3 separate regions of the Homo sapiens genome follow, and regions 1 and 3 are each linked to region 2. The links are contacts of gene promoters, found by promoter capture Hi-C in blood cells and fetal thymus (Javierre and others, 2016). All regions are on one chromosome and are shown on one strand. Each heading gives the region's core, a stretch centred on a gene start or on the middle of the fragment in contact. The rest is flanking DNA. Distances are from core to core; before and after follow the strand shown. Region 1 holds the start of LOC101927522 (a long non-coding RNA gene). Region 2 holds the start of FXYD1 (FXYD domain containing ion transport regulator 1). Region 3 holds the start of LINC01801 (long intergenic non-protein coding RNA 1801).

What was found. The method cuts DNA at HindIII sites, captures the fragments that hold promoters and counts their contacts. A CHiCAGO score of 5 or more calls a contact.
Region 1: a fragment that was not itself captured here is called in contact with the fragment with the promoter of FXYD1 in region 2 in 13 of 17 cell types (M0 macrophages, total B cells, monocytes and 10 more); the score reaches 13.6 in M0 macrophages.
Region 3: the fragment with the promoter of LINC01801 here is called in contact with the fragment with the promoter of FXYD1 in region 2 in 6 of 17 cell types (naive CD8 T cells, erythroblasts, non-activated CD4 T cells and 3 more); the score reaches 8.4 in naive CD8 T cells.

What each region holds. Positions count from the first base shown.
Region 1 is chr19:35,431,870-35,435,407 of GRCh38, reverse strand. It overlaps LOC101927522 (a long non-coding RNA gene), which reads left to right and starts at 755. Exons shown (of 7, transcript NR_187751.1): 1 at 755-1,088; 2 at 1,570-1,819; 3 at 2,306-2,549. RefSeq lists an enhancer at 1,315-2,514. The HindIII fragment of the contact is 997 bases long and covers 1,372-2,368 here.
Region 2 is chr19:35,136,814-35,140,606 of GRCh38, reverse strand. FXYD1 (FXYD domain containing ion transport regulator 1) reads right to left here and starts at 1,783. Exons shown (of 8, transcript NM_021902.4): 1 at 1,713-1,783; 2 at 467-531; 3 at 1-10. The coding sequence starts at 527. The HindIII fragment of the contact is 25,239 bases long and covers 1-3,052 here.
Region 3 is chr19:34,831,575-34,835,599 of GRCh38, reverse strand. LINC01801 (long intergenic non-protein coding RNA 1801) reads left to right here and starts at 2,731. Exons shown (of 6, transcript NR_033982.1): 1 at 2,731-2,875; 2 at 3,064-3,270. The HindIII fragment of the contact is 2,823 bases long and covers 2,404-4,025 here.

The sequences.
Region 1 (3,538 bases), core at 621-3,120, 290 kb before region 2:
AGCAAATATGGGGAGCAAAACCAATTATAAGCCTAAAATATCTATGGTAGCCATAGGAAGATGTGGGATTTTAGAGGGGGCTTTTATCAATTGTGTTATTAACAGGTAACATACATACAAAAAGGTGAGCTCAACTTAGGGATACAGCTGGATGCATGTTAACATATCTGTACATTTGTGTATGACCACCCAGGTTGAGATGCAGGCCATTTTCAGCACCCTAGAGGCCCTTTTATTCCCTCTCAGTCAGCAAACCTTCCACTCCTAAGATAACCACTTTTCCAGCTTCTACCTCTTTTTTTTATCTATTTATTTTATTTATTTATTTATTTATTTATTTTTGTGAGACAGGGTCTCTGTAGAGTGAGTGCTCATATGAGCACTCCCAGGCTGGAGTGCAGTGGTGCGATCTTGGCTCACTACAACCTCTGCCTCCCGGTTTCAAGCAATTCTTCTGCTTCTGCCTCCCGAGTAGCTGGGGTTACAGGCGCATGCCAACACACCCAGCTAATTTTTATATTTTTAGTAGAGATGGGGTTTCGCCATGTTGGACAGGCTGATCTCAAACTCCTGACCTCAAGTGATCTGCCCACCTCCGCCTCCCAAAGTGCTGGGATTACAGGCATGAGCCACCATGCTCGGCCTTGTTTCTATTTTCTTTGACACAAGCACTGTTTATCTTCCAGTGTAAGAACGCAATCAACCATAGCACTGTGGGATAGCAGCCAGGAGGCTGGCTGTATCCTGCTGCAGCAGCCACCACACATGGAGGGCGGAGGGACAGCCACCCTGTTGTGTAGCTCGGAGCAGCTGTGTCCTTCAGTGCAGGTCCAGCCAAGAGCCGTGGGCCACAGATGACGCTGGTGGGGAAGCAGAGGGCAGACTAGGCAGAGGCAAGGCTTTCCTGTGCCCTGAGCTGTCAGAGATGGGCCAGGGCCTTCAGCTTCCTCGATAGGGCAGAAGTGACCACGCTGGCTCCATTCAGCAAAGGACGTGGACGGAGCTGCCGGGCTTGTCTGAGAGGAGGAGAAATGTGGAATTGAGTGAGGCTCTCTAAGAAGGTTCTGCTGGAGTTGAGAAAAATTAGGGTGAGGCACCTCCCCGATTTTATGTCCTTTTTCCTGGGTCCAGCCTCCTGAACAGCTACCATTCGCTTCTGTGAGACACCTGTCGGTGCCTCCTTTTCCAGCCCTTAATGGAACGGTGAGTGAGGTTCCCTGACTGGGGTGGAGTCTGCTTGTGAGTTTCCCCATCCCATGTCTCTCTGACTCCTGCTCCAACTCCTTACTTCGCCAGTTCCTCTCCCAGCCACCTCAGACTTCCCATACCACCCTCCCTGGACAGGAAGCGTTTTTACAGGAGTTTGAAGCTTCAGGAGTGCCCTCCGGCCACATGAAGACAAGGCGCTAACAAACATGGCGTTCTGCAAATTGCACCATCGCCAACTCCTGTCTTACTCTCACAGAGGTCTCTTGGGCTCTTCTGAGAAGGGTGAATGAACTTGGTTGGAGGGAAGAGAGGGGTTTGGTGGCTCTTAGTAAAATTGCTTCACGCAGTGACCTTTGGCAGTTTAGGATAATAACCTGTGCAGAGAGAGGGTCTCCTGTCCTGAAGTCACAGCCCGGATCTCCAGGCTGGCTCTGCTGCCTCTGAATGATTTGTGGGTCACACACGCCAACAGCATCGCCAAGGGCTGACATCAGCCTGCTTGAGCCACGGAAACTGAATGGGCAAGGATGAGTTCCCCAGCACAGAGGGAGGCATCCTCTGTCAAGACCATCTGCGCATGTGCTGTGCAGTCTCCAGTCTGCACTGTGAGGTTAGTACTTCTTCCTCTCTCTAGAAAGTGTAATGGGGGCCAGGCATGATGGCCCACACCTGTAATCCTAGCACTTTGCGAGGCTGAGGTGGGCGGATTGCCTGAGCTCAGGAGTTTGAGACCACCCTGGGCAACATGGTGAAACCCTGTCTGTACTAAAATACAAAAAAATTTAGCTGGGTGTGGTGGCGGGCATGTGTAATCCCAGTGACTCAGGAGGCTGAGGCAGGAGAATCGCTTGAACCCGGGAGGCAAAGGTTGCAGTGAGCCGAGATCATGCCACTGTACTCTAGCCTGGGCAAAAGAGCGAGACTGGCTCAAAAGAAAGCATAACAGAATACTCATAACTGACAGTGACGTTGTAACAGCTTACCTTATATCCTCTCATTTCTTTGTTTACTTAAACTTCCAAAGCCTAGTTTTTTCAGTATTACCAGGAACCATGGACTTACATTTCTTGCCTCTTGGTGTGTTGCCACATCCCAGCAGTGTGTCTCAACGGCTTTTGAGAACTGCTTCGAGAGGGGACCAGATGCGCAGAGACAAGCTTCCAGCCTGGCTAGGGACGGACCCTCTGGGGATGCTCCTCTCTGGCCGGGCAGCAGTAGAAGCACCTGCCTCCATCCACATCCAGACGCCATTCCCTTTTCTTCACCGCTGCTTCCCATCAGATGGTCCCCAGGAGTGGCAACCTCCCACTTGGTCTCGCAGGAGTCCCAGTGCTTCTCAGGTGTGTGTGCCACATCCCTCTTCTCTGAACACACAGTGGTCAGGGTGCCTGCACAGGGAAGGGCACCACAGTCCACCCTGGGAAAGGTCTTCAGTCTTCGGGAAAGAGCCTGTAAGCACCTTGACTGCTCTTCTTCTCTAGGGCAGAGAGCTTTCTTATCCACAGGGGTCCTTAGTCAGAGAGAGGGAGCGCACTCGGTGAGCTCTTTCAGAGGCAGCAGAGCCCTCTGCCTCTCCCCAAATCCCTGCTCCTACAAGTCGAATTAATCTCTCCTAGAAATCCAAGTCCTAACTTCTTCCAGGCGTCTTTTTACATCCACTGTTTGCATAGCCCACCCTTTCTTCTTTGGAGGATCCCCTCAGGTAACTTCCATCTGCTCCTCAGTGTGTCTTACCCCTTCCTTCTGTTCTTTCTTCACCTCCCTCCCTCTCCACCTCCACACTGGACTATATCAAATTCCTGTTCATTTTTTAGCATGGCCCAGTCAAAGCAGGTTAATCTCTCAGTCAGCAGAGGACATTTCACAAAAATTGGGGCCGCTAAATCACAAAAATATTCTCTAAGTCCAGGGCCAGCCCAGAAAAAATGCCCCAAGTCCAGGCAGCCCCCCAGAGTCTGCCGCCGTCTGGAAAATCCGGCTCAGCTCTTGCTCCTGCACATCCTCTCCTTTCCAGTGCTCTGTGTCTGGTCCCTGTCCCACCTCCTCTCCTTTCCCCAGTGTCTTCTGTCTGAATTCTGTGGGCCCAGGACAGCCCCAGCCTTCTCAAAGTCACCTGCATGTCTCTTGGATTAGGCAGCTGAGTGCAAGGTAACAACCAGATCATGCATTTTCATCTCTCCATGGATGGTTGGGGATAGAGCATCACAAGACAGGCATTGTGGCTGGGTGTGTTGGCTCATGCCTATGATCCCAGCACTTGGTGGGAGACCAAGGCAGGTGGATTGCTTGAGCTCAGGAGTTCAAGACCAGCCTGGGTAACATGGTGACA
Region 2 (3,793 bases), core at 534-3,033:
TTTGGACTTTCTGGAAAGAGAGAGAAATCAGGGGTTGAATGCTTCCTGGGGTCCTGGCAGGGAGGGGCATGAGGAGACCACTGGAGGCTCTGCCTTGCTGGGCTTAGAGTCTGAGGGTGTCTGGGCAGGCTGCCCACACTCTCTGGGTCCCAGCTGCCCCCTCTGCACTGTCCCAGATGGGGCAGGTGGCACCTAACTGCCCCAGCTCCCTGACTCACGGCAGGCTGTCTGTGACCCAGTTATCCCATCGGGGATTCAGCCCCATCCCACCCCATCTTTGCCTGATCTGGGGCTTCCTCTCCCCTCCCCCAAATACCAGCCTGTGACTGGACCCCACGTGGAGACCCCCAAACTTCTTGGTACCCCAGCCGACTTAGTCTAGGTTGGGGTCTCCAACTTGGTTCTTCGGTCCCCACCGCCACCCCTGGGGCTGAGGTGGGTAGCGGGCAGCCTCCCCTGCACTCACCTGCCTTGGCCATGGTGAGGAGACCCACACAGAAAACCAAGATGTGGCCAAGAGACGCCATTGTCCTGGGGGGGACACCACGGATTAGGCAGTGTGTGCCCTTGCTCTCCCACATAGGGCTTGAACCCAAGGGATTAAGTCAGAGACAGTCTGGGGACTGAATCACAGAAGTGTTTGTCCTCTATCTTGGTGGCTCCAAGCTAGAGAAACGGGTATCCCCAGCTTCGTGGGGACACAGTGTCACCAAAACAACCTCCACGATGGGATCACACAACAACACAACGTAGCAGGGACGGGGGTGAGACACACAGTCCCCGGGGGGCCTCCCTTGGGCCTCCACCTCCCGCAGCAGGCCCCCGATTCCCAGACCTACCCTGGCAGGGCAGAGGAGGCGCTGCCTCACACAAACACAGAGCAGGAGACAGCAGGGCACGCCCAAGTCCCACCTGCCTACATGCCCGGCCTCACTGTGCCCCGCGAAATCCCAGCTCCCTGCCCTCTCCGCCCGCCCGCTCGCGGCCTGACCCCGGGTATAAATATCTCCCACTTCACCCTGGAGGAATTCTGCTCGCTCAGGCCACCATGGCAACAGCCTGCCTTCCCCCACTCAGGGGGTCACGCACAGCCCTGCCGGGGTGAGGCCCAGCTGCCACATCGCCACAGGCTGCCCCTGTGGGAAAGGTCACCCCGTCTCCTCCCTGGGCAGCAACGAGAAAAGGAAAAGACAGCCCCTCTGCCCGCCTCTGGGTGACATCTTTCACAATCGGATGTCAGGCAAGTGACATGAGGCCCAGCCCAGTGGGCCTTAGAGATAGAAAACACATGCTGGGGCAGGGATACACACACACACACACACACACACACACACACACACACACAGTGGGGCCGGAATGGACATGAACAACAACCTCTCCCCAAACTGCTGGTTGGAGCAGGACGTGGGGTGTAAACACCGTCAGGCATCCAATACTCCTCCTCTGGGCCTCCGGTGCCCCCACGCAGTGACGCAACCAGCCCTACACACGTGTGTGTCCCAACTCCACACCCTGCCAGGGTGCACACGCACCAGCAGGGCAGGGAGGAGTCACCCACATCCCACCCTGCAGAACCCACTGCCTCAACCACACTCCCTCCCTCTTGGGTTGGCCTGCCTGGGAAGCCTCGGGCTGGCCACTCCTGCTCCCAAAATAGGCGGCCCAGCCAGACCAGGGGTGAGGCCTGGAGGGAAGGAGTGGGGGACGCTCACCCCAATCGGGCTGTCCCCTGCTGAAAGAAGGCCCCCAAACGTCCTGCTGTGCCCCGGGGGCTGAGCACTTTGGACCCCCTGGCCCAGAGCTGGACGCGCCGCCCCCAGCAGCCTCCCCTCCCAGCCCCACCCCACCCATGCCCTCCCCAACCAGCAGCTGAAACTGGAGCTGGGGCTGGAGGGGGGCCAGGGGGCGGCCCCCAGCCCAGACTGCCCTGGCCCGCTTGGTTAACTCTCTCAGTTCAGAGAGAGCAGCAGCAGGCAGCCAGCAGGCAGGCTGGAGAGGCTAGGAGGATTGTGGAGGACAGGGTTGTGAACACACACACACACAAACACACACGCCTCCAAGAGCTTTTGGGCTGAGGCGGCTGCCCCCTGGGAACTGGGTCCAGCCAGGGCCGAAGGTCACCCAGCCTGACTGCCCAGGAGCCCACTGACCCCCGATCCCAGTGCTCCGTGAGGTCCTTAACAGGGCTGTTTTAGAGGACGGGAGGGAGGTGTGTGTGTGTGTGTGTGTGTGCGCGCGCATGTGCGCTATCTGCTGTGGTGAGATCCCCAGAAATGCACCACACACACACACCCACACACAATCCCAAAGACCCAGATATACAGGTACAAAACCAGACAAAACCATGTATGTATGTACATCCATAGAAGCAGACACACACAGAATGACACACTGATAGAGAAACCCAAAGACCCGGACACACAGCCAACACCTTTTATGCCAGTCACAAAATACCAGAACAAGCACATTTATGTCTACACAGACCCACGCACGCTCATGTAGATGGATGGCCACACAGAGATACAGTCAAAGACATAGCCACATCACCATCTACACTCACAAACTGGCCACAAAAATGCATGTTTATGTGAAGACCCACCCACAAATGGCCATACAGAAACACACAAGTATGTGCACACCGCACATAAATGCATTCTAAGATGCATGGCCAAACATGGCCAGGTACGGTGGCTCACACCTGTACTCCCAGCACTTTGGGAGGCCAAGGCGGGAGGATCACTTGAGGCCAGGAGTTCAACACCAGCCTGGCCAACCCGACGAGAGCTCGTCTCTACTAAAAAAATATACAAAAATTAGCTGGGTGTGGTGGCGTGCGCCTGTAATCACGGCTACTCCGGAGGCTGAGGCAGGAGAGTCACTTGAGCCCGGGAGGCAGAGCTTGCAGTGAGCTGAGATCATGCCACTGCACTCTAGCCTGGGCAACAGAGCGAGACTCTGTCTCAAAAACAAAAACAAAACAAAAAAACCCCAAAGGTACAGACATGCAGCCAGCACTCCTACATGGTCCCAAAGATAGGAAGGCCAACAAGCTTGTGTACACACAGACAGATTTCCATGGGCACAGATACACAAGCAGAAACACCATCAAGGACAACCCGCCGCTCTCACACATACCCACAAAAGCAGAAACACACACACTGGTTCACACCCTATGCTTGAGCAAACAGGCACATGGTTGGCCACGGTGACAGATGCGCAGGCTGACACACTTGCATGTTCACACATTCCAAAACCACAGATATGTATTTAACCCCACACTTTCCTTCCCCTGAGCTCTTGTCGGGGACAACACACCTGGCGTCCCCATGGGCAGGCCAGGTTTACAGGTCCTGGTGACAGGGAAACCTGGAATGGCCCAGGCACTGCACTCCTGGTTGTGTGAACTTGAGCAGCTCTGTGCCTCATTTTCACATGCTCCAAAATGGAAAAATCACTAAGATCACGTGTATAATCCTGGACAGGGCTCAGAGGTCTCTGAACTTGACATTGTCTTATGATTAACTTCATTTTTTGTTTGTTTGTTTGAGACCGGGTCTTGCTCTGTCACCCAGGCTGAAGTGCAATGGCACAATCATAGCTCACTGTAGCCTCAACCTCATGGGCTCAAGTGATTCTCCCACCTCAGCTTCCTGAGTAGCTGGGACTATGGGCGTGCGACACCATGCCTGGCTAATTTTTTAATTTTTTGTACAGTCGGGGTTTCTCTATGTTGCCCAGGCTTGTCTTGAACTCCTGGCCCCAAGCGATCCTCCCACTTCAGCCTGCCAAAATG
Region 3 (4,025 bases), core at 1,482-3,981, 310 kb after region 2:
AACCTTTTTCATGTTTAAAAACTGTTATAACAGTTAGAAAGAAAATCTGGCCTTCTCTGCCATTATTATGGCCAATTGCATCTACGTAGCAAAATCTGTTTATAAAACAATGATTTTAGAATGATATTCTTTCTACCTTTGCTTCGTTTTTTTCAAATCAAGTTTTGGAGGTAAAATTCAGCAATTTCAGCGGCTGCTGAGAAAAAAATTCAGAGTCAGGACCTGCCAATGAAGAGGGTCCCCAAAAAATACTCAGGTTTTCATGTAAAACGTCTGAAAGCCAGTATCCCAGAAATAAGGATAACAGGAGAGAGCCAGCCTTCAAAAAGAGTGAAGCATGGCTCTGACTTACATTAATCTCAGAATAAAGTGTGCTTTCCCATCCTAGCTGCCTTCTACATCCAAAGGTAAATCCCTTCAGAGGATTTATAGTAGCATCAATAAACATGAAATAAATCTACAAAAGACATGCAAATCGACAGGAGAATTCCAGAGCTAAATGTGAAAAGTTAAGCAATAAACCTCATAGTAGGCATCACTGAAAATTTCCATGATATTGGAAGTGATGCTGGGCAGGCAAGCCCAAATTGGGGCTTAGCTTGGGAGGGTTCTTTGCTTCACCCAGCAAAGGATTCAAGGGTGAGCTGGTGGTGGAAGAAGACAGCTCTATTGAAGAGGCAGTGTTACAGCTCTGTGACTGCTCCTGCAGAGCACGGTTACTCTATCGGCAGGGCGCAGAGAGCAGCAGCTCAGGGCAGTTCTGCAGTCATATTTACATCTACTTTTAATTGCATGCAGATTAAGGGGTGGTTTATGCTGAAATTTCTAGGAAAAGGGTAGTAACTTCTGGGTCATTGGGTCATTGCCATGGAAAGGAGCAGTAATTCCTGCATGTTGCCATGACAAATGTAAACTGACATAGCACACTGGTGGGTGTGTCTGATGGAAAGCTGCTTCCACCCTGACCCTGTTTTAGCTAGTCCTCAATTTGCTCCAGTGTCCAAGCCCCGGCTCTGGAGTCGAGTCCTGCGTCCTACCTCAGAAGTAGTCGAAAACATACACATGAATGTTCACAGCAGCATTATTTCTTTCTTTTTTTTTTTTAAAGAGAGATGGGGGTCTCACTATGTTGGCCAGGTTGGTCTTGAACTCTTGGTCTCAAGCAATCCTCCCTCCTCAGTCTCCCAAACTGCTAGGATTACAGGCATGAGCCACTACACCTAGCCACAGTAGCATTATTATTTCTAATAGCCAAACATCCATCAATAATAGAATGGGTAAATTATATTTGTTCAATGGAACATCACACAGCAATATAAAAGAATAAAGTGCTGCTAAAAGCAACAACATGGATGAATTTTATGAAGTGTTGAATGAAAAGACACAGCCACAAACAGGACACATGGTAGGGTTCCATTTATATAAAGTTTTTAAATAGGCAAAACTAATCTATAATGTTAAAAATTTGGGAGGGGCATAGTGACTAGGAATGAGCATGAGGTTGATTCTGAGGTGCCTGTGTTTTGCTTCTTGATCTAGATTACATAGGTTTGTTCATTCTGCAAAAATGTATTGAGGAATAGACAGATGATTTGTACACTTCTGTGTATGAATGTTATATTGTAAAGTTTCTTGAAGAATACCTGTTTACAAGAGTTAGAGAACATGGAAGCTCTTTCTCTGAGATAAAACATCTAAAAAGACAAAAATTAGCCGGGCGTGGTGGTGGGTGCCTGTAATCCCAGCTACTCGGGAGGCTGAGGCAGGAGAATGTCTTGAACCCGGGAGACAGAGGTTCTAGTGAACCAAGATCACACCACTGCACTCCAGCCTGGATGACAGAGGAAGACTCTGAGACTCCGTCACAAAAAAGAAAAAACAAACAAACAAACAAACAAAAAAGCCCTAAGTCATATCATGCCAGTCTCAGCAGTTTGAAACCCTCCATGGTTCCCATCTCTCAGTAAAAGGCAACGTTCTTATGACATCCTTCAAGGCCCCATGTAGTCTTTTGGTCCCTCTCCATCTCTGTCCTCCTGTCATCCACGTCTCCCACGTGCTGATTGGGTCTGGTAGGGTGACTGGGTGGCAAAGACCTCACAGAGGTGCCTTTCTGCTCAGGTGGCAAACAGGAGAGTCTATCTGGGCCCTGCAGGATGGATCCTTCCTGAGTCACTGAATATATTGGAGGTGCAGACAGCGCCAGAGAAAGGCATTGAGCCTGCCAGATCAGACACCGCCTCTTAGGGTCGACGGAACACCCAGGAGCAAAGACCAGAAATTGTGGGAGAAAGGCCTGGAAGGGGGCCGGGGAGAGGCACAGAGACAGCGAGGTGATGCAGGCTTGGTGGGAGCGGGTATGGTAGGCAATGGGGGACAGAGGGGCAGGGCACAGACAAAGCTTGCTGAAGATATGAAGAGCAATTGTGAGCCGGCGAATCCTTGGAGTAGAGGAGAAAATTGAGGTCTCCTGTTCAGCCCGATGCAGGTGAGATGCTGTTGGAACACGTGACAGAGAAAGGGTGTGTGAGCCCAGGGCTTGTGCACTAAGCGCACAGGAGCGAAGGGGGCGAGAAGAAAAAACGACGCCCAGCAAAGAGCGTCAAGGCCCAACCGCCTGCCCCCAACCGGTCTCTAGCGCCTCGTGACCTTCTGCACTCCGTTGCAGGCGTTTGGCACCAGATGGTCCCACGCGCTCTGTTCGACGGTTGGGGGCCGCGGACGCTGGTTGTCAGCAGCACTGGGTCAGCCGGTGAACGGGTGTGCAGCGTCCTCAGCGCCGCAGCAGTCAGCACCTGTGGGTGCTCTAGCTCTTTCCCTCGGGGTCACCGGAGGCAGAGCCTCCCCTACGCGGAGTAGAGGAGCAGCTCACATGGTGCGGGGGTGGGGATCGGGCTTCCTGGAAGGCTGGAAATGGGAGTTGGGATAAGGGGTTGGCGAGGGCGGGGCGGCACCGTCTACCGGGGTGACCGGTGTGCCCTGGCAGCCAGGGAGTCTGCTGCAGGGCAGGTATTAAGATTCGGAGAGACATAGGACAAAGAACCCTCGGCCTCTTCTTTTCAGGCAGCCGCCACAGAGGACACCAGATCATGCCAACACCCCCACAACTCCTGCCCGCCTGCAGGCAGCTCTGGGCTCAGGACACCGCCTGCAAGAACCTTTATAGCGCAGCTCTCCAAACCTTGGAGGCGAGGACATTCTATGTGCCCGCCCTGGAAAGGCCTGAACCTATAACATCTGGGCTGTGATGGTTTCTGAGGTGGACACCAGGTATTCTAAACTGCCCACATGCTTCACCCCAAAACTTCCCTTTCTAACAGGCAGTGTATTTTCACTTCTTTTAAAATATTTGGTAAAACAGCATTTAAGCCTTAGAAAGTTCCCCATCTCACCCCAGCCAGGGTTTGAACCCATGCTGTCTGATTCCACAGATCATGCATTTAACCACCAGACTTTGGTGTAGCCTCACCGTGTGTGCATAATGGATTACACTTGTTTATAATACTTGGGGTGCTTAGCACCATGTCAGAGCTGTAATGAGTACTTGCACTGTTAGGAGGTCTAACATGGTTCAATTTATAAGTGGACCATTGGCCACACCGGGTCTGGCTCAGTCTCCTGGGAGGATGTAGGCAGGGACCACCAATTATCAGCATATCTCCATGATGAATTTCTCCAGACAGCGTATCACTCTGTCACACAGGCTGGAGTCACAGCTCACTGCAACCTCGAACTCCTGGGCTCAAGAGATCCTCCCACCTCAGCTTCCCAAGTAGCTGAGACTGCAGGCATGCGCCACCACGCCTGATAATTTCTCTTCTAATTGAGCTTTGCAGAAAGCCACACAGCTGTCTGAGAGCTATTTTCTCCCAGGTATAGGGACAGGAAATGGCACCTCAGACTTCTGCAGATTCCACCCTGGCTTAAAAGCCCATGCCCCCAAGGACACCAATCTTTCTTACAATAACATAGACTATCTTTCAGGGTCCTGGCCAAGATGGACAACTTGCCAATATTAACTTTTC